Regions from separate parts of the Homo sapiens genome. Here all the other regions are linked to region 1. The links are contacts of gene promoters, found by promoter capture Hi-C in blood cells and fetal thymus (Javierre and others, 2016). All regions are on one chromosome and are shown on one strand. The core of a region is centred on a gene start or on the middle of the fragment in contact, and the rest is flanking DNA. Distances in the headings are between cores, read along the strand shown. Region 1 holds the start of CITED1 (Cbp/p300 interacting transactivator with Glu/Asp rich carboxy-terminal domain 1). Region 2 has its middle 25 kb from the start of PHKA1. Region 3 holds the start of PHKA1 (phosphorylase kinase regulatory subunit alpha 1). Region 4 holds the start of PHKA1-AS1 (PHKA1 antisense RNA 1). Region 5 overlaps PHKA1 (phosphorylase kinase regulatory subunit alpha 1). Region 6 overlaps PHKA1 (phosphorylase kinase regulatory subunit alpha 1). Region 7 overlaps PHKA1 (phosphorylase kinase regulatory subunit alpha 1).

Region 1 (3,040 bases), core at 174-2,673:
CCACCCCGGGAGCCTTGGCCGGTCCACAGGGCTGCCGGACTCGCGTGGCCGCGTGGACTCCGTTCCCCAGCCGGCCCTTTGCTTTCACACGATCCGCGGTGACTGCACCAGCTCGAGCGCCTTTAAAGGGCCACAGACGCCAGCCGCTGCTATAAAAATGTGCCCGGCGGCAAAGCTGCAGAAGGGGCACCGCTGAGCTGCCGAGAGGAAGCTCGCTCTGCCCGGCTGCCCTCTTGTAGTCCGCCGGCGAGGGGCAGTTCTCGGTGAGGAGGAAGAGAGCAGCGGACGGCACAGCACCCGCGCGGGCCCTCCGTGAGTATCCAGTTCAGATTTTGCCACCAACTCGCCCACGAGCCAGGACATGTGCTAATAATGCCCTAAGCCGGTTATAAAGACGTGGAAATTGAGGGGAGAAAAAAAAAGGGAAAAAAAGGGTCTGTCCTTCCTGGGATTCCTAGCCGAGGCCAGTCTGCTGCCGTGTGCGTGTGCGTCAGGGCTCTCCGGGCGGCAATGGGGGCTTGAGAGCCGGGTCCCCAGCGCCGGGAAGGGAGCGCGGTGGCCGCCACCGCCACCGCCCCGGAGTCCGGCGCCGAAGCTGCGGGCGGGCGGGCGGGCACCAGCTCGGTCAGGGGCTGCTTGGCGCGGCACTGTGCGGTGCAGCGGCGGCGCGGCGCGGTGCGGGCTTTTCCCAGGCGCCCCGGGGTCGGGTGGCCAACGGCGCGGCCGCGGGCGCTGAGCGCGACCGGTTCGCGGTAGCGGTGGCGGCGGCGTGCGTGCCAGGGGCTGGGGGCTCCGCCGCCTCTCTTGCGGCTCACCGAGCTCCGCGCTTCCCTCTCTCCAGGGCAGGCGGCTTCTCAGAGGTAAGCCGGGCCGCCGGGCTGGGCGCCGGGCTGGGCGGCGGGGCCGAGGACTCCCGTGGAGCGGGTATGGGGAGTGGGCGGCCGCCAGGCGGGCCGGAGGGTTCTGGGGAGACTTGCTTTCTGTTGGAAAGCTGCTCTGCTGGGGGCGAGGGGCCGCCCGCCCGCCCGCCCGCCAGCGCTCGGGTTCGCTTGCCAGCGCGCCCCCCTGCCGGCCAGCGGGGCCGGGTGCCCGCTTCTCCCGGGGAGACGGCAGCACCTTTTCTCCCTGCGCCCGCGCTTTCTCCAGCTTGGCTTCCACCGACTTTGCTAATCTCCCGGACCGCATCTGGACGCTCTGGCTCCGGAGCTGCACAAAGCTCAGATTTACTTCGGGGAATTGAGGCAAGAGGGGGCTTTTCGGGCCGAGTTCAGCGGAATTGCGGGATGGAAGTTAGCGAATTTGGGCAACTTGCCTCTACTGCCCAGTCGACCTCAGCCCTCCCCTCCCCCGACACACGCCCACACACACACACCCACGCGCACACCCCTCTCCCTATAAACGCGGGCTGGCGAGCCGCGCGCCGAGTCCCTGCTTCGCAGAGCACCGGACTTGGAGTCAGAGAGACCTGGCTGCGAATCCCGGCTCCGCCACTTTCTAGCGCTGTGACCTTGGGCAAGTTACCGCACCTCTCCGAGCCTCTCTCACTCTTCTCCTAGCGGGGTTTTAGCACTGACCGCAGGCGGCTTGGCTAGGGGGTAGGCTCAGCCTGCTGCCGCGTCGGATGCTCAGCGGGCGCTCAGTAAGTGTTGATCAGGCGCGAGAGTGGCAGCAGCCGGCGCCGGAGTGCGGACTCGCCGCGGAGGCCGACACCCCGTGCCCCTTCCTGCCTGTCCATCCTGTCTCTAAGATCAGTTCCTGATACAGCACTTGCGGGAACGGACGCTCAGGGCCCCGGTGGCCTGGGTGCACGCGCCCGCCGTGCAAGGGATGCTCCCGGCCGCCCCCGGTTCCGCGGCTCCATCTGGGATGCGGCGAGGAGGGCAGCCGAGCTGTCCGCAAACAACGGGCCTTTAGTTTTCAGGTGGCGAAACTGACTGGTCTGGTTAGAGCGCGTCCAAGCCAAGCCGCAGTGCTGTTTGGATTTTTAAATTTCTCCTTCTGAGTGAGAAAATAGCAATCGAGATGGAACCATCCGGTTGGTGCCATTTTAACTTTTGGTCCCCCAACAGGTTAAAGATGAGGCCCCCACCTGCCTCTCCCTTCTCTTTTCCCTCTCCCCTTCCCACCCCTGTCTAGGCGGGAGGGGGCTGCTCGCCCAAGGGAAGGCCTGAAGCGAAGAGCGGGCAGCGGGACTGGGAACTGGTGGCCGGGGGGCCGCCAGGCATCAGCCGGCGAGAAGGCACTTGTTGCTCTAGGTTTCCCAGCCGCCTGTCGCAGCCGTTTCGCAGTGGTCAGCTCGCGGCTTGGAGAGCGGGCTGGGACGTTTCCGCGTTGCCAAGTTTTGCCCACGAACGGGCTAGAGGGTGGTGGAGGAGGGCAGAAAGCCGGGGAAGCAGAGCCAGGGATGCCGATGGAAATGCGATTGCTTCTTCAGACGCATTCAACAACACTTACTGAGCGCCTATTGAGCGCAGACCCAGGCTGGGGTCAGGGTGGGTGGTGGGTCAGTAATGGAAGGCAGAAGATCTGAATGGACACAGGGCCTCTTCTGGGGGAGCTCCCAGATTGAAGAGGGAGGCGCGGTAAAATGGTCTTCCCCCACGAACTGATATCAGAATAGAGAGAGTTTTTTTGCTCGTTCTCTCTTTTGATTTTTCTAATGTTTCTCTTTTGGTTTTGCTGTTGTTGCTGCTGCTCCTGTTGTTTTTTCTTCGTTTTGTACATTCGGGTACCAAGCGGCAAAAAGGAGAGGGAAGGCTGGATAGGAACAGGAAAAGATGGACAGGGCCCCCAGACATTTTTCTTAGGACAGGAAAATTGTCTGATACTGATTGTGCTAGGGCTCTTGAAGACGACATGTGTTAGACTTCTTGTCTGGTGATCACTTGCTTTTGAAATATTTTTCTACGGTTGCCTCAGAGAAGGAGCAGGGCTTCAATCAAGCAATGATGCGGGACCCAACAGCTGATATTTTTTCCTCATGTTTTTAAAAAAATGTTTACCCCTTTCTCTATTTTTTCCCTCCCCTACCCCCATCCAC
Region 2 (3,040 bases), core at 319-2,818, 430 kb before region 1:
TGTTTATTAAAATGGAGAAATTTGAACAATTTTATGTCAACGGATTCAATAACTGAGATGAAATGGGGCAATTCCTTAAAAGTCACAAACTACCAAGGCTCATCCCAGAAGGAGATCATCTGAATAACCCTTTATCTAGTAAAGAAATTTAATTGGCAATTAAACACTTTCTTAAGAAAGAAAGAAAACCTCAATCATAGATGGTTTCACTAATGAATCCCTATATGAAACCATATGGAATTATATAGAAGTATGTAAACAGGATCACATACTTCTTGAATCATTCTACGAAGCCAGAATTACATTGAAAAGAATGAATTTGGGCCTCTACTTCATCCTGTATACAAAAAAATTACCCAAAATCAGTCAATGACTTAAATACAAATGCTAATAACAAAAAACTCTTTAAAGAAAACACAGCGGTAAACTTTTATACCCTTGGATTAGGCAATGGATTCTTAGATATGACACCAAAATCATGAGCAACAAAAGAAAAATGATAGATCAATTAGATTTCATCAAAATTGAAAATGCTCATGCATAAAGAACAGTATAAAGTAAAAAAAGAAAACATTCTATAGAATGATAGAAAATAGTTGCAAATTACGTATCTGACAATGGTTTACTATTCAGAATATGTAAAGAATTCCTATAGCTCAACACAAAAAAGAAAAGCAACCTAATTAATTTTTTAAATGAGCAAATGACTTAAGAGACATTTCTCCCACTAAGCCCATGAGATGATGCTCAATATCATTAGTCATCAGAGAAATGCAAATGGAAACTACAATGAGATACCACCATTAACACTTTACATACACATCTATAATTAAAAAAAAAACTTTTCTTGAAGCAAATAAGAAGCATTGGTAAGGATGTAAAGAAGTTGAAATTCTTGCACATTGCAGATGGGAATGTAAAATGGTGCACCTCTGTGGAAAAGCTTGCGGTCCCTCAAAGAGCTCTTTTCATAATGTATACAAAGATCAAAACGTTATATTGTACCACATAAACATACATGGCTATTATATCAATTAGAAATAAATTTTAAGAGTTAAACATAGGATGCCTTATGACCTAGCAATTCCACTCCTAGGGAAATATACCCAAAATAATTGAAAATAGAATCTGAGACAGTCAGTTTCATGCTAATGTTCATTGCAACAGTATGCACTATAGCCAAGAGTTGGAAACAACCAAAGGGTCCATCAGCAGTTTAATGGACAAATGAAATACAGCATGTGTATGCAATGGAATATTATTCAGCTGTGGAAAGAAATGAAGTTCTGATATGTGCTACAACATGGATGAACCTGAAAAACTTACTAAGTGAAATAAGCCAGACACAAAAGGAAAAATATTGTATGGTTCCACTTATATGAAATACCTAGAATAGGAAAATTCATAGAGACATCAAGTAGATTAGAGGTTATCAGGGGCTAAAGGGAGGAGGGAATGGAGGGTTATTGACCAATGGGTACAGAGTTTCCATTTAACGTTTGGAAGTAGTGGTGATGGTGTCACAATGTTGCCAATGTAATTAATGCCACTGAATTGTACACTTAAAAAGGGTTAAGATTGCAAATTCTATGCTACATATATTTTACTACAATAACATTTTCCAAGGCCTGATGCAGTAGTTCATGCCTGTAATCCCATGTACTTGGGATGCTGAGGCGGGAGGATCACTTGAGGCCAGGGGTTTGAGACCAGCCTGGACAACATAGCAAAACGCTGTCTCTACAAAATTTTTTAGAAATTAAAAATCTTCCAAAAGGGAAACAGAAAAAAAAATCCAGGACTACAGGAGGAACAATCCATGCCCCGCACCTCCCTTACTGCTGTCTTTTAGAACATCACAAAACCCAGGACGGCACTGGGAAACCCTAAGCCACAATTCATAAATAACACTTGGCAGCAATCTTCTTTAAGTACCATCATGACAGCTGCCTCTGAGGCGGCTGCTACATTTCCTGTCTCCCACCTCTGCTTCTTGGGTTACAACTTTACCCTCACAACCTTTCTTTCCCACTCTGCCAGCATACTGAATATTTCTCACCAATAACTTCCTTCCAATCCACCCATCCCGGTGAAAATCTTCGGCCTACATTTATGTTCCTATCTTACTGACCAATCTATGTCTAGAACAGGACTCTCAACACTGTGCTGCTTTAGGTCATACCTCAAGCTTGACAACACTGTTTGAATAGTGAGTCTGAAATATAGGAATTGACTGGGACAAACACACTTAATATTAAGTCTATAGTTTGCCTTTATTTGGTTCTGTGTGATCATAGGCAATGTACCACTCTGAGCTTAGCAACCTCATTGATAAGATAGCAACAGCATTGTCTTCCTCCAAGAGTTATTTTTCAGGATTAAATAAGACTAACATGTGGAACATATCTAGTACATAATAGAATCTAAGTAAATTTTAGTTACCTTCCCCTTCTTCATAACATGTTATTACCAGAAACTGGGATGTTGAGGTAGGGGTTGCCTGCATTTCTAGCATTTTGAGGATGACATCAGGCAGACAAACTTACCTTCAGACATGCTAACATTCATGCCTCTGCCAAGCACCAATCTTGGGATGAAGGGAGGATGGTTTGGTCTTATTATGGCAACCTTCTGTTCTTCTGCACTAAAGGCCATTGCTATTTAGAAAAAAAGAATCCTCCCGTGAAGAATTTTGTAAATTAACTACTTTACAGTTTCAAAGCAAACAATTACATCTTTTGAGTAAAGCTGAGTTTTAATATATCTTATATATTGAGCTTGCTTAGAGTAAGACACAGCTCTAAAATAGAGGACCACAATATCAAGGAAGTGGAATTACCCTTCTTCCAGGCAAGGAGTCATTTATTCATAAATGTATCCATTCAACGTGTATGATATGCCACTATGAGCCATTCCTGGAGATATAGAGATGGAAAAACCATGGTTCCTGCCCTCAAGGAGCCCACAGTCTAGTAAGGGAGACAGAGAAGTAATTAGACAACTACAATACAGTGCACTAGGTGTTGTGAGTGAGAGGAAT
Region 3 (3,040 bases), core at 283-2,782, 410 kb before region 1:
AGCACATTGCCTACGGTGACACATTCTCGGCCCCGGGGCGGGCGAGCCCCGGGGTCGCAGCGCGCAGCTGCCAGAACCAGTCGCGCCCGCCCCGCCTCCCGCTCGCGTCTCCCGCAAGGTGGAGGCGGCGCAGCGGTCGTTGACCTGTTGGCGGCGGCCGGGCGGGAGGCTGTGGGCCGCGGCGGTCTCCCGGGGTTGAGGGGAGGATGCAGGAGTCACACGCGGAGGCCGGACTGGACTAAGGGGGCAGGAGCGGCGCCTGGGGCGCTGCGGCGGGGCTCTAGACCGCGGGAAGCCAGTGCTAGCGCTGGCGCGTGGTGGGCCCCTGAGGCCGCCGGAGTCCGGAGAGGTACGCGGAATCCGCGGCGCCAGGCCTGAGCGGTGGGAGGGCTCTGCGGGGCCTGGTGTTCAGGCGTCCCACCACGAGGGTGGAGCAGCGTTGGATACTTGTTCCTTAGGGACCGAAGGCTCCGGTGGCACCCGGGCTATTTCTCAGAGGACAATTAGTAACGTGTCGCCATGAGGAGCCGGAGTAACTCCGGGGTCCGGCTGGACGGCTACGCTCGACTGGTGCAACAGACCATCCTGTGCCATCAGGTAACTGCAGGGGTGTCTCTCGTAATCACCGAGCGAGGATGTAGCTTGTCATAGCTTGGACGGAGACCTTGGATGAACTCCGTGCGTGCGTGCGTGTGTGGGTGTGTGTGTGTGTGTGTGTGTGTGTGTGTGACGGAGACCTTGCATGAACTCCGCGTGTGTGTTTGTGTGTGTATCTGTATCTGTCTGTAGCAGGTTCTCCCGCCCCTGTTAATTATATATTTTTTCTGCTGGTTTTTCATTGCTAGTTCGCTAGTTCATTCTAACTAGAAAGGTAAAACTTTCTTTTAATAATACCCATTATAAATGCACTTAATAATACCTTTAATTGTGCCTTTAATAATACCCACATTTCAGACTCGAAAGGCTTCAGCCACCGCTTACCCCTTATTCAAGATAGTATTTGCAAAGGGCACAAAGTTTCAGTTATAAGATGAGTAAGTTCTGGGGATCTGATGTACAGCAGCATGGTGACTGTAGTTAATCATACTGTACTGTATACTTGAAATTTACTAAGAGAGTAGATCTTAAGTATTCTCACCACACCAAAAAAAAAGGTAGCTGTGAGGTAATAGATGTGTTAATAAACGTCATTTTGGTAATTTTCCAATGAATACATAAATCATCATGTTGTACTCCCTAAATATACACAATTTTTAATGTGTTGAATATAGCTCAGTAAAGCTTGGGAAGGTGGGAAGATAGCATTTGCCTGCAATAGGTCAGAAGAAGAGGAGGTTATAAAACTCAAGAGTGGAGAAGTAGAAGAAAGACCAAAGTCCCTAAAAAACCCATTTGGAAGATTCTGTTTCCTGATGTTAACACCTATGGTTACCTTCCTGCCCTCTTTTTCTTGACCTTGCAGAATCCAGTGACTGGCTTGCTTCCAGCCAGCTATGATCAGAAAGATGCTTGGGTCCGAGATAATGTGTACAGCATCTTGGCTGTGTGGGGTTTGGGCCTGGCCTATCGGAAGAATGCAGACCGGGATGAGGATAAGGCAAAGGCCTATGAATTGGAGCAGGTACTCAAAATAAAAATACAAAGAGATCTGGAGCTATGTGTGATTGGGGGTTGGGGGCAGAGTGGGGACTGAAGGAAGTGAAACCCACCAAAAGCTAAGAGAACTGTATTTTGCCTTTCCCTCTTTCATCATCTTTCTGAAATTATATTCCAGAAAGCTTTCCTGTATTGTACTGAAGTGGTATTCTTGCAGTGGAAACTTGAAACTTGCTGATTTGAGGGAGAGGGAACAGTCTGTTCTGTTACAGTGGAAAATCCTATCCTGGGATCTTTCCTAAAATGCATGACTCTCTAAGTTAATCTATCTTGTAGTCACCACTGTATTTATTCTCATTGAGAAAATGTTTGGGAGCAGGTATCTACTATTTTATTTCATTTTTAAAAATTGTGGTGTTTGTATGAGGGTAAATGACATGAATCAGCAAACCTTCTGGACTAGACACAGTAAAGACTTTATCTGTTGATTTTTATAGCTGTGGCCACTGTTTCAGAGCCTGTTGCTTCCTCCCTCCCCCAACTCCTGGGCAAAATGAGGTCAGAGTCAGCAGATGCCTTTAAGCCAACTTTTAAGGCACTTCCCCTCAGTAAACCAGCATCCTTTATAGAACTGTTGAGACGCAAAGGTAGCTGCATCCTCTTCAACGACCAAGAAAATAATATTAAGAAAACAATATTCTGGGCTATGGTGGGAGTTGAAGTACTCTGTTGTCAGTTATAAGATGCATGTGCATTCATTTCCATTAGTGGGAAAAATTCTCTCTATACCAGCCATTTTCTCCAGTGGTCTCTCCAAGACTTAGGCAATCTGAGCTCCAGTCTTCATCTATAAATCAGAATATTGATATTTGGTTATTTTACGAGTATCAATATAATGTGGGGTTGCACTGTGTTGTCCTTAGCAACAGCAGGCATTTGTTGTTCTTTCAAGCCATTATTGAGAGATACATAGGTCCACCAAAAAAAAAAAAATTATTCAAGTTTTTGCTCCACACCAGGTAGTACAGATCATTATTTTTATGACTTTTTTTGTTGTTGTTGAGACGGAGTCTCACTCTGTCCCCAGGCTGGAGTGCAGTGGCACGATCTCAGCTCACTGCAACCTCCACCTCCTGTGTTCAAGCGATTCTCCTGCCTCAGCCTCCCGAGTAGCTGGGACTACATGCGCGTGCCACCACGCCTGGCTAATTTTTTGTATTTTTAGTAGAGACGGGGTTTCACCATGTTAGCCAGGATGGTCTCAATCTCCTGACCTTGTGATCTGCCCGCCTCGGCCTCCCAAAGCGCTAGGATTACAGGCGTGAGCCACCGCGCCCAGCCTTTTATGACTTTTATAAAAATACCATTGTAGAAATTTGGAAAATATAGAAGAGTGTTTAAAAAAATTCACCTGTAATCCTGCCCACTCCCCTCCCCCAAATCC
Region 4 (3,040 bases), core at 142-2,641, 380 kb before region 1:
AATTCAATACATAACAAACACTTAGAGAAAAATACAGGAGTAAATGTTTCTGGCCTTGGGTTAAGAAAAAGCCTCTTAGATATGGCACGAAAAGCATAAGCTACTGAAGAAAAAATAGATAAACTGGAATGTATCAAAATTAAGAACTTTTGTGCTTCAAAGGACCCCATCAAGAAACTAAAAAAGCAACCAATAGTATAGAAGAAAATATTCACAAGTCATATATCTGATAAGGTACCTGTATCTAAAAGAACTCGCAGAACTTAATATAAAAGATAAATAACCTAATTAAAAATGGTCAAAGAATCAGAATTGACATTCCTCCAAAAAGATGTTCAGATAACCAATAAGTACATGAAAGGATAGTGAACATCATTAATTTTGAAAGAAATATAGGTCCAAACCACAATGAGATACCACTTCACACCCATCAGGATGACTGTAATCAAAAAGACAGATAATAAGTGTTGCTGAGGATGTGGAGAAATTGGAACCCTCATACACTGCTGGTGGAAATGTAAAATGGTGCGGCTGCCTTGGAAAAGAGTCTGGTAGTTCCTTAAAAGGCTTAAAAAAGAGATACCATATGATCTAGCAGTTTCACTCCTAAGTATATATATACCCAAGAGAAATGAAAACATATGTTCACTCAAAAGCTTATACATTAATGTTTATAGCAGCATTACTTATGATAGCCATAAATGAAAATAACCCAAATGTTTATCAACTGATAATTGGATAAATAAAATATGATACATCTGCACAATGGAATTTTTAAATTTTTTTTCATGTTACTGCTACCTCTCAAGATGGAATATTTTGGGCAATAAAAAATGAATTACAGGTACATGCCACAACACTGACAAACCTTGAAAATATTATGCTAAGTGAAAGAACCCAGACATAAAAGGCCACATATTGTATGATTCCATTTATATGAATGTCAACTAAGGCAAATCATAGAGACAAGAAGTAGATTAGTGATTACTTAGGCTGGGGGGCAACTGTAGAAGGGAAGTGGGGAGTGACTGCTAAGGGGCACAAGGTTTCTTTTGGAGTGATGACAGTGTTCTAAAATTGATTGTGGTGATGGTCGCATAACTGTGCATACACTAAAAACCGTTGAATATATACTTCTTATGCATGCTTTTTACATATCTCAATAAGGTTGTTTCTAAAAATGAGAGAAAGAGGCTTAATGTTATACAGATGAGTGCAGAATATAAGTGCAATAGACCACTGATTTAGCTCCATTTCTGGAGCCCTGTATGCCTTAGTATTCTTTATATAGTCACCTTTGGTCTAATCCAGCCCTATCTCATTTTATGTGTACTCACCTCTGCATTCTTTGTTCGACAAGCAGTGTCTGGGCTCTACAGGAGGCACAGGATCCAGAGGTCCTCCATTTATGACCTTTCCTCAAGAGGCTGATCCCTTTCCTGTGGTTAACAGAGGTGTTTAAAATCACTTAATAAATTTTCAAACATCTACTGTTCAATGCTATTTAATACCGTTCAGAATACTACGTGAGATACTTTTAGTGGCTATGTGAGATAATTTTAGAAGATGCAGATATAAATAAGATGTAGTTCTTTCCTTAAAATTCAAGTACACATTTGTCTATAATACAGAGTAAAAAAATAAGTTCATAAAAGTAAGAAAAACAAAATTCTGTGAATCACAAAATAGGAGAATCAATGATAGCATCACAGAGGACATAGCATTTGAGCTGAGCCTTGAAAGAACAGTAGGATTTCAAGATCTGGAGAGAAGAAGGCCATTTAAATGGAGAATATAACAAGCAAAAGGACATAAATGGTAGAAATGTCTGGCATTTGTATGATATAGCTGTGATGCAAGTCTAACAGATGAATAATACCAGTTTCATACTTTTGCCTTCTCTGTCTCTGCTCAATCGCATTGTCACACAAAGATGACAAGATAAAGCTATGAAGCTGATGTCCCATGTCACTATCATCTCTTCTCTTTACCGGCGTCTTTCCAAGAAGTTAGTGTCATTACGATTGCAAGAAAAAACACACTTTGCCACTTTGCTTCTGCAGCTTCCCTGTGCTATGGATGCTATTTTGACAGAGCCATGGATCAGGAGGAGTTTGCAATCTGATAATACCAATCATATAGTTCTTTTTAATTATAAAGTTACACAGTTCCATGATTTAAAATATATGTTAATAGATCAAAGATTTAGATGTGGCCAGGCGCAGTGGCTCAAACCTGTAATCCCAGCACTTTGGGAGGCTTAGGCGGGCGGATCACAAGGTCAGGAGTTCAAGACCAGCCTGGCCAACATGGTGAAACCCCTTCTTTACTAAACATACAAAAAAATTAGCCGGGCATGGTGGTGGGTGCCTGTAATCCCAGCTACTCAGGAGGCTGAGACAGGAGAATCACATGAACCTAGGAGGCAGAGGTTGCAGTAAGCCAGGATCATGCCACAGCACTCCAGCCTGGGCAACAGAGCGAGACTCTGTCTCAAAAAAAAAAAAAAAGTTTCTGATAATAAAAAAATACTATAAACAAGTCCAAATTCCAACAAACTAGCAAAAATACTTGCAACACATATGATGTGCAACGGACTAATTTCCTTAATATTTGTTAAAATATCAATAATAGAGAAAGAAGTTTTTTTTAAAGTTTAATGCTGAGCAAATACACACACACAAACACACACACACAGTATGTTTGTGTGAACCACAGAAAAGGGGAAGCAATGACAGCATCACAGAGGAGATAGCATTTGAGCTGGAACTTGAAAGAACAGTGAGATTTCAAGATATGGGAAGGAAGGGAAGGCCATATGAATGGAGATTATGAGCAAAAGGACATAAGTGGTAGAAATATGTGGCATTTGTATGGTATGGCTGTGATACAAATCTAAGAGATGAATAAGGCCAGTTTCATACTTCTGCCTTCTCTCAGCCTCTGATTTCTATTGAATTGCCAGTCTTTCTGGCAATATATACTTACAATGCATACTTTTTATGTATCTCAATAAAGTTTTTAAAAATGACAGAGAATG
Region 5 (3,040 bases), core at 405-2,904, 350 kb before region 1:
TAAAGAGGTACTCAGAAAAGTATGGAACATGTCAAAGGAACACAGGAACCATCTGAAAAGTGCTTCTAATGGCCAAAGCAGAAAAAATTTGAACAATAAAATAACTATCATAGTATTGGATTATAACCCAGAGAATAAATGAAATGTCCATAAGTCCATACTGATATAAATAAATAACTGAAAAATGAATAAATAGGAAAGAAGACAGATCTCCCTAATAGGAGAATGTCAATTAATAAATGCTAAAGGAATAAAGGAAATACAAAATTGCCATTAGACAAACACAAGAATAACAATTATTTCAGGAGAAATCTACTGATGGATGCTAAAACCAGTAGACAAAAGCTTAAGCATAACGAAGGTGTTCGAATAGTCTCACAGTATCTCCCCCAAAATATTTAATAGTTACAAATGGAAAATTACAGTGGAGAAATTCAGCAGACACCACTTTAACCAAGTGATCAGGGTTAACATCACCAGTAATAGGACACATTGACATCATGTACTCTCTCATACAATGCACTGAGAAGGGCACATCACTTCTGTGGTATCCTTCCCAATATGCATAACCGTACTCTGATCATGAGAAAACATCAAACAAAACCAAATCGAGGGGCATTCTACAAAATAACTGATGAACACTCTTCAGAAGTGTCAAGGTCATTAAAAACAAGGAAGGACTGAGGAACTGTCATAGATTGGAGGACACTAAGGAGACATGATGACTGAATGCAATATGGGATCCTGAATTGGGTCCTAGAACAGAAAAAAGGACAACTGATGAAATCCAAATAAGTTATGGGCTTTGGTTAATAGTATCGTACCAAAGTTTTTTTTTTTTTTTTTTTTGAAACAAAGTCTCACTTTGTCACCCAGGCTGGAGTGCAGTGGCAGGATCTCGGCTCACTGCAACCTGTGTCTCCCAGGTTCAAGCGATTCTCCCACCTCAGCCTCTTGAATAACTGGGACTACGGTCACGTGCCACCACGCCTGGCTAATTTTTGTATTTTTTTGTAAAGACAAGGTTTCACCACATTGGCCAGGCTGGTCTCGAACTCCTGACCTCAGGTGCCTCCCGCCTCAGCCTCCCAAAGTGCTGGGGTTACAGGCATGAGCCACTACACCCAGCCACCAAGGTTAATTTTTTAGTTTTGGCAGATTTCTATGGTTATATAAGATGTGACTATAACGGAATGGTGGTTGACAGGAATACTGGGATTCTCTGTACTGTTTTTGCAACTCTTCTGTAAATCTAAAATTATCTCAAAATGTAAAAAATATGTGTTTTTTTAAAAAGCTTATGGAGTCTTATGACTTATGAGCTGTATGTGTCTTATGAACAGGACCACATAGATTAGTAATTATGCTGTCAGACTTACCCTAGGTGGATAGCCATGGAGAGGATACTGTTAGGAACACTGCTTTAGTGAAGAGCCTGTCACTTTGCCTTCACTTGAAATCACATTGCTGAAATCTGTTTCTGCTGCTGGATTGATTTTTTGGTTTTAAGCATTATTATATTATTATAGGTTTTTTGGTTTTAAGCATTATGCCTTTATCGGTGATAGGTTGGTGGTACATATAGATGTTGCAAGGATGTATTTCTGATTAATTACATGGCCGTACCAGTGTACAAGCTGCTGACCTTTTTTCTTTGTATTCCCAGGGTCGTTATGGTTGCTGTCGCTTTCTACGAGATGGATATAAAACTCCTAAAGAGGTAGGTTTCTTTTCTCCAAAATGAATCCAAGGTAGAATGGCCACTTCTACCTGCAGCCTCATTCAGAGAAAATATTTACCTCACTGATGGTACTTATAGAGATCACTAAGTAGGATAATGATAACTGATGTTTGCTATATTTGTTGAACTTGGCTTAGCTGCCAAGTTCTCAGTTTGTAGGCCTTTCTGGATTAAGTAAAATAGAGGAAGGTGTAGTCCTTCCACCTCTTGCATTGGTTAGTTTCGGGAAAGAACTACAGATACATGGTAAAATCAGTGGATGAAAGCTTATACAGAAATAGTATTTGCATTGTCTCAAAGTATCTCTCCCAAAATATTTAACAATTACAAAGGGAAAAATCTTTCCATCAGTAGATCTTTCTGGCCCCACATTCCACCTCTTGTAGTTGGTTAGTTCTAAACAGTACTTGATTTTGAAAAGTTTACGTTCCCTTTATTCAACTAGTCAAAAGTTCACCTTGGAAATATCAATGAGAAAAATTCAGTATCATTAAAGGGATTGAACAGTCAATATGAAGCACTTTCACTGGTAATGGAAACATTGTTTAAAGCTTAGATTTGATGTTTGAGAGACATTATGGATTTTTTTAAATCATCGAGCTCAAACTCTTCTGGTCTACTTCCTCTTCCACTTTATTTTTTAGCCTTGAATTTGACTTCTTCCCCTATCAGTGTACTAAAATTATATGTTCTGAAACATCATCATAAGCTCTTAAATGACCAATCCAATAGCCTTTTCTGAATCCTTATTCTCCTTGACTTCTCTATGGTACCTCACTTTTTACCTAGCCCTAAATTCTCTTGAAATTCTTTTCCTATTTTAATTTTCCCACTAGATTATCCTGATTCTTCTCTTTCTGTTATTCCCTTGCCCCACTCTGAGGGTTTACCAAGATTCCATTCTTGAGCAGTTTGCTCATTTCATTTAGTGCTATTTCACAAAGCTCATCTGTAACTTGTACTTCATATGTCACCTCTAGGAAAATGATTCCCAAACCCTCATCTCTAGTTGCCCTTCTAAACATTTCTACTTGTATGTCCTATTATTACAAAAAACTTAACAAATATAAAACCAAACTGAACTTTATTGCAAACCAATCTTATTTCTTCATACACCCTCTTGTGATATCATTGCTATCCCAATTCCGCTAGTTAGAAGTCGCATCATAGAGTACTTGCTAAGGGAAGGGAGTATGTACATGCTCTGCTTCCTGAACACCTTCTCTAAAACAATCAGTAATGAAAACCCGTATTATAATACCTCTGAGCTAAAGATATACATCTAACCTCTGAGTGATG
Region 6 (3,040 bases), core at 401-2,900, 330 kb before region 1:
ATCGTTCCAGCACTACTGATTGAATAGTTCATATATAGGTTGTTTTGAAGTTCCACCTTTATAATTTACTGTACATGCATATACTCACTCACATGTGTGGATACTTTTAATCTTACTTTTTGGTGCTGCTGATCACTGTTTCTTCTTTCCTAGTACTATATTTTTTAAGTTATCATAGTTTCAACCTCACCAATGATTGTGAAAATGTAAGATAAAAGAATAGTGCTATGTAATTTTTTGCCCATCAATTTTACAAAAAAAAGGTAAGATTGCCAATATCCAGTGCTGATGAATATGTGGAGATGTGGACACTCTCAGCACTCCTGGTAGTGTAAATTAGAGGCAGGTAGGCATTACCTATAAAAAAATGTAATGCACATGTCTTTGACCAACAACCTTACTTCTAGGAATCTACCCTTTTCTTTTTCTTTTTCTCCCCCCAAGATGGAGTCTTGCTCTTGTTGCCCAGGCTGGCTGGAGTGCAGTGGCGCGATCTCGGCTCACTGCAACCACCGCCTCCCAGGTTCAGCTGATTCTCCTGCCTCAGCCTTCCAAGTAGCTGGGATTACAGGTGCCTGCCACCATGCCTGGCTAATTTTTGTATTTTTAGTAGAGACGGGGTTTCACCATGTTGGCCAGGCTGGTCTCGAACTCCTGACCTTGTGATCTGCCCACCTTGGCCTCCTTCCCAAAGTGCTGGAATTACAGGCGTGAACCACTGCACCCAGCCCAGAATCTATCCTATATAACATTCGTACAAGTACACAAGGGCATATATTCAAGGATGTTCACTACATTATAATCTGTGGTGGCAAAACAACAATTAGAAGTACTATAATGTGTATAAACAAGAATGGTAGAATTATGTATATTGTATCATAGCTAAAAAGGTAGACTTTCAGCTTCCAGCTGTGATGAAATAGCTTGTATTGGGCTGTCATACTAACAATAACTGGAATGGCTGAATTTTAAAAATGAAGGTGAGTGAAGGCTTCAGAGAGTAATTACAACAGCCAGAACTTGAGAAACTAAAACCTTGGACAGAAGGGACACTCAAAGAATAAACTCACTATTCTCTGTGCAGTTTACCTTTGAGGCATTTGCTGATTCTTAAGTTTTGCTTGCATGAAGTAAGGGGCCAAGAAACTAAGCAGGAAGTCTCACTGTTCTACGGAGACAAAAATTGCATTTCAGGACCTTCCTATGTGGAAGGGGCTGTGATAAACACCTTGGGCTTTCAGTTGAAACCCCTAAAGAATGGACTACACCTTAGGAGTAAGGAAAAACCATAAATAGACGAGTTCTTAGAAAGCCTCAAATACAAATCCTAAAACACAATCTTCTTAATTCCTGATTGGGCTAAGAAGATCTGCTTATACTGTATCTGCCTACTAAAATAAACTGAATCTTCTCTGGAGGGAAATAATGTCATCCAGAGCCTCTACAATTCTTTATACACCGTATTCAGCATTGAAAAAAGAAGACATGACTTAGAAAACCATGACTTGTTATTAATTGGTAAATTAATAAAATTAATAAAAGACAAAAGAAAAAAATAAAACAGACACCCAGACTTCTATTCAACATAGCTTTTTTTTTTTTTTTTTTGAGAGAAGCTCTCACTGTGTTGCCCAGGCTGGTCACAAACTCTTGCGCTCAAGGGATCCTCCCACCTTAGTCTCTGGGACAACAGGCACACACCATCACAGTCGGCCATCATTGGAAGTTCTAGCCAGAGCAGTTAGACAAGAAAAAGATATAAAAGACATCCAAATTGGCAAAGAAAAATTAAAATGGTCTCCATTCACACATGACATGGTTTTATTTAAAAAACAAAAACAAAAACAAAAAAAACCTGTGAGAACTAATAAACAAATTCAGCAAACTTATAGGATACAGAATCAGCACACAAAAGTCAGTTACATTTTTATACACTAAAAATGAACAATTTGACAAGGAAATTAAGAAAACAGTTCCATTTATAATAGCATCAAAAAGAATAAAATACTTAAGAATAGGCTTAACCAAAGAGGTGAAAGACTTGTACACTGAAAATGGAAAAACATTGCTAAAAGAAATAGAGAGGAGACAAATAAATGGAAAGACATGCTGTCTTTGTGGGTTAGAAGACATAATATTGTTAAGATACCAGTACAACCCAAAGCTATCAACAGATTCTATGCAAGCCCTATCAAGAGCCCAAATGATGATTTCTGTAAAATAGAAAAATTGTTCTAAAATTTATATGGAATCTCAAGGGACCCTGAATAGCCAACATGAGGATGTGGAGACATGAAAACTCTTGTGTACTGTGGATGGGAATGTAAAATGTGTCAGCCCCTATGGAAAACAGTATGGCAGTCCCTCAAACAAATTAAACATAGAATTACTATATAATCCAGCAATTACACTTCTGAGTATATATCCAAAAGAAGTAAAAATAGGAACTTGAACATTTTCTACATCAATGTGCAGCATTGCCCACAATAGCCAAAAAGTGGAAACAACCCAAATGTCCATCAATGAATGGATAAACAATATGCAATGTATACACAAAATGTATACCCAAAATGGAATATTATTAAGCCTTAAAAAGGAAGGAGATTCTGACATATGCTACACATAGATGAACTTTGAAGACTATGCTAAATGAAATAAGCTAGTTACAAAAGGAAAGATATTGTATTATTCCATTTATATGAGATACCGAATTCATAGAGATACAAAGTAGAACAGTGGTTGCCAGAGGCTGGGAAGCAGAGGACATGAAAAGTTACTTACTGTTCAATAAATAGAGTTTCAGTCTGGGAAGATGAAAGAGTTTTGGAGATAGTTGGTGGTGATGTTTGCACAATGATGTAAATGTACTTAATGCCACTGAACTTAAGGTTATTAAAATGGTAAATGGTAAATTTTATGTTGTGTATATTTTGCAGTATTAAATAGAAACAAAAAGTAAGGAGTAGTGGGAAAACCTGGTTGTGACATCAATCTCAGGTAAAATGTGTGCTTTACTGCATGGACCCTGGAATATGACCAA
Region 7 (3,040 bases), core at 1-2,500, 290 kb before region 1:
TTATTTTCCAATAACATAGGGAAGGGAGTTCAACTCCAACCTCTTTGCGATTTCAGAAAACAAAATTCAATTTGCTAAGTATTGGTTAAGTATAAATTCTTGGTCCCACCCTAAGTACACAGAGTCAGAAAGACTGCGGATGAGGCCCAGTAATCTGTTTTATTTAGATGATTCTGATGCATTTTTAAGTTTGAAAGCCACTGGGTTAGCTTTTCTTCTGATTATGAATTCATTTAGTAAATATTAATTGAGTGCCAGTTTTGTGCCAGGCACTGTGAACAAAATGGATGTGGTCTTTGCCCTCGTGAAGCTTACAATTTAGGAGGACTGACCTCTAATTAAATTTATTTGGTTTAAATCAAAGACTCATAATGGCCTATGATTTCAGATTTCTCAAGCTGAAGAGATTTAGGCTAGACAATTACCAAACAAAAAATGGAAAATTATTCGAAACAATATTAGTATTTAGGTTAACCTAAATCAAATACCCTGTAATGAACTAATAAGACTTGGCCAACTCTATCATATCCACACTAACATAGGACAGGGGTATAGAAGAAAATTTAAAAACTCAAAATGATTGATATTTGGCTTTGGAAAACAGTCTGAATTGTACTTTATCAGATCTATACCCTTTCTGGTTTGACCTCACAATCAACAGCCTAGGATCTTGGTGGTATAAACAAGACAATGAAGATAATTAAATGGCAGTTCATCTACTCAATAGATCAGTGCGATAGTCACTTGCCAGTAGAAATGTTTGGGGGCTCTTTTCTTTTTTACATTGCATTGGTTGGTGATTTAGGCATTTGGCCCAAATTAAAACGTGAGAAGTTATTTTCTCAGAAAATATTTCTATTATCTTCTATCTTATATTTATTTCTGAATTTAAACTGTTAACCACTTTGCCCAATGTATTTTATCCTTTACTTAGTATAAGTTTTTCAAAGTTCATTATGTTTTAGCATGTATCAAAAGTTTATTTTTTTCATTGCTGAATAATATCCTACTAAATTAATGTACCACATTTTATTTATCCATTCATCAGTTGATGGACACCTGGATTGTTTCCACTTTTTGGCTGCTATGAATAATTCTACAATGAACCTTCATGCACAAGTTTTTGTATGGACATATGTTTTCACTTCTCTTGGATATATATCTAGGAGTGGAAGTCCTGGGTCATATGGTAACTATGTGTCGCATTCTGAAGAACTGCCAGACATGTCCAAAAGGGCTGCACCATTTTACATTCCCACCAGCAGAGTATGAGAGTTCCAATTTCTTTACATCTTCACCAACCCTTACAATTGTCTTTTTTATTATAGCCATCCTGATGGGTGTGAACTGGTATCTCGTAGTGGTTTTGATTTGCATTGCCCTAATAGCTAATGATACTGAGTGTCTTTTCATGTGCCCAATGGCCATTTGTTTATCTTCTTTAGAGAAATGTCAATTCACATTTGTACCTATTTTAATTTTTTTTGTCTTTTTATTGTTGAGTTGCAAGGATTCTTTATATATTCTGGATACAAGTCCCTTTTAAGATATAAAATTTGCAAATATTTCTCCCATCCTGTGGGTTGTCTTTTCACTCAATACCATTAAGTATTCTTCAAACAACAAAAATTTTTGATTTCCACAAAGTCCAATTTGTCTATTTTTTCTTTTGTTAATCATGATGTTTTTGGTGTCATATCTAAGAAGGCTTTGCCTAACCCAAGGTCACAAAGATTTATTCCTATTTGTGTTCTAAGGGTTTTATAGAGTTAGCTGTTTTATTTAGGTCTATGATTATGTATGGAGGGATCCCCAAGATCACCCTCAGATTTAATGATTCACTAGGAAGACTCATAGATCTCAGCATATAGTCATACTCACTGCTACGGTTTATTACACCTAAAGGGTACAAGATGCATTGGGCACAGTGTAACTACAGTCAACAATAATTTATTGTACATTTTAAAATAATAAAAAGTATAATTGGATTGTTTGTAACACAAAGGAAGGATAATTGCTTGAGATAATGGATACCCCATTTACCCTGATGTGGTTATTATGCATTGTATGCCTGTAACAAAATGTCTCATATACCTCATAAATATATAAACCTACTATGTACCTACAAAAGTTAAAAAAAATTTAAAAGAGTCATTGGTCAAAGTCTAGGGAAAACAGACACAAGCTTCCAGAGTACTCTGTCAGTAGAGTCACCCTGCAATGAGTTGTGACAAGATGTCATTGCCAACCAAGGAACCTAATAAAGACTCAGCACCCATTGTTCTTGTTGAGGGCTGGTCACGTAAACAGCCTCTGTCTGGCGTGTATCAAAACTCTGGACTCCCAGAAAGAAAGCAAACGTTCAACATAAACCATAGCGTTTGTACAGTTTAGGCATGGTAAGCCACTGTTATTAGTTCTGGGAATGGTGAGAACTCTCCCAGAATCCAAGTTTCTAAGTTTCTAAATGCCAGCCAAGGGCCAACCTTGTAAGCAAGCCTTTCCAAGAATAGCAGTTCTGGCCTACTGTCTTAACTCTTTTCTGCACAATGGGCTTAATTTTTGTGTGTGGTATAAGGTAGAGTTCAACTTCATTCTTTTGCATGTGGATGTCACTGTTCCAGCACCATTTGTTGAAAAGGCTATTTTTCCCTCATTTAATTATCTTGGCGTCCTTGTTGAAAATTAATTGACCAAAATATAATGGTTTATTTTTGAACTCCCTGTTCTATTCCATCGATCTATATGTCCATCCTATACCAATATGACACAGTTTTGATAGTTTTGTAGTTTTGATAGCTTTAGAGTAAATTTTGAAATCAGGAAGTGTGAGCTCTCCAACTTCAGTCTTCTTTTTAAATATGAATGTTAGGATCAGCTTGTCAGTTTCTGCAAAGATCCCAGCTGGTATGTTGATAGAGATTGTGTTCAGTCTGTACATCAGTTTTTGAAATATTGCCATCTTAATGATGTTAAGTCTTCTGACCCATGAATATGGAACTATATTTCAATTTATTTAGGTCTTTAATTTTTTTCAACA

Evidence for each region. The method cuts DNA at HindIII sites, captures the fragments that hold promoters and counts their contacts. A CHiCAGO score of 5 or more calls a contact.
Region 2: a fragment that was not itself captured here is called in contact with the fragment with the promoter of CITED1 in region 1 in 5 of 17 cell types (M2 macrophages, M0 macrophages, endothelial precursors and 2 more); the score reaches 7.9 in M2 macrophages.
Region 3: a contact is called between a fragment that was not itself captured here and the fragment with the promoter of CITED1 in region 1, in 1 of 17 cell types (megakaryocytes). The highest score is 5.3, in megakaryocytes.
Region 4: the fragment with the promoter of PHKA1-AS1 here is called in contact with the fragment with the promoter of CITED1 in region 1 in 3 of 17 cell types (M0 macrophages, M2 macrophages and M1 macrophages); the score reaches 8.1 in M0 macrophages.
Region 5: a contact is called between a fragment that was not itself captured here and the fragment with the promoter of CITED1 in region 1, in 1 of 17 cell types (M1 macrophages). The highest score is 5.2, in M1 macrophages.
Region 6: a fragment that was not itself captured here is called in contact with the fragment with the promoter of CITED1 in region 1 in 2 of 17 cell types (M2 macrophages and fetal thymus); the score reaches 8.3 in M2 macrophages.
Region 7: a fragment that was not itself captured here is called in contact with the fragment with the promoter of CITED1 in region 1 in 1 of 17 cell types (monocytes); the score reaches 5.1 in monocytes.

Annotation. Positions count from the first base shown.
Region 1 is chrX:72,304,297-72,307,336 of GRCh38, reverse strand. CITED1 (Cbp/p300 interacting transactivator with Glu/Asp rich carboxy-terminal domain 1) reads left to right here and starts at 1,423. Exons shown (of 3, transcript NM_001144887.2): 1 at 1,423-1,512. It overlaps LOC105373250 (a long non-coding RNA gene), which reads right to left and starts at 1,235. Exons shown (of 3, transcript XR_938441.2): 1 at 1,117-1,235. RefSeq lists an enhancer at 368-417 and a silencer at 144-438. The HindIII fragment of the contact is 8,247 bases long and covers 1-3,040 here.
Region 2 is chrX:72,737,463-72,740,502 of GRCh38, reverse strand. No RefSeq gene overlaps it. Among named protein-coding and RNA genes, the nearest start is that of PHKA1, 25 kb to the right of the region's middle. The HindIII fragment of the contact is 1,245 bases long and covers 946-2,190 here.
Region 3 is chrX:72,711,360-72,714,399 of GRCh38, reverse strand. PHKA1 (phosphorylase kinase regulatory subunit alpha 1) reads left to right here and starts at 94. Exons shown (of 32, transcript NM_002637.4): 1 at 94-597; 2 at 1,463-1,621. The coding sequence starts at 520. It overlaps PHKA1-AS1 (PHKA1 antisense RNA 1), which reads right to left. Exons shown (of 5, transcript NR_110391.1): 5 at 2,052-2,443. RefSeq lists a silencer at 1-113 and an enhancer at 1-790. The HindIII fragment of the contact is 497 bases long and covers 1,284-1,780 here.
Region 4 is chrX:72,687,300-72,690,339 of GRCh38, reverse strand. PHKA1-AS1 (PHKA1 antisense RNA 1) reads right to left here and starts at 1,391. Exons shown (of 5, transcript NR_110391.1): 1 at 1,338-1,391. The region is part of intron 4 of PHKA1 (phosphorylase kinase regulatory subunit alpha 1); the gene reads left to right. The HindIII fragment of the contact is 3,854 bases long and covers 659-3,040 here.
Region 5 is chrX:72,656,268-72,659,307 of GRCh38, reverse strand. It overlaps PHKA1 (phosphorylase kinase regulatory subunit alpha 1), which reads left to right. Exons shown (of 32, transcript NM_002637.4): 9 at 1,667-1,720. Among named protein-coding and RNA genes, the nearest start is that of PHKA1-AS1, 31 kb to the left of the region's middle. The HindIII fragment of the contact is 710 bases long and covers 1,300-2,009 here.
Region 6 is chrX:72,636,942-72,639,981 of GRCh38, reverse strand. All of the region lies in intron 14 of PHKA1 (phosphorylase kinase regulatory subunit alpha 1), which reads left to right. Among named protein-coding and RNA genes, the nearest start is that of PHKA1-AS1, 50 kb to the left of the region's middle. The HindIII fragment of the contact is 5,199 bases long and covers 1-3,040 here.
Region 7 is chrX:72,596,622-72,599,661 of GRCh38, reverse strand. All of the region lies in intron 28 of PHKA1 (phosphorylase kinase regulatory subunit alpha 1), which reads left to right. Among named protein-coding and RNA genes, the nearest start is that of HDAC8, 25 kb to the right of the region's middle. The HindIII fragment of the contact is 1,875 bases long and covers 313-2,187 here.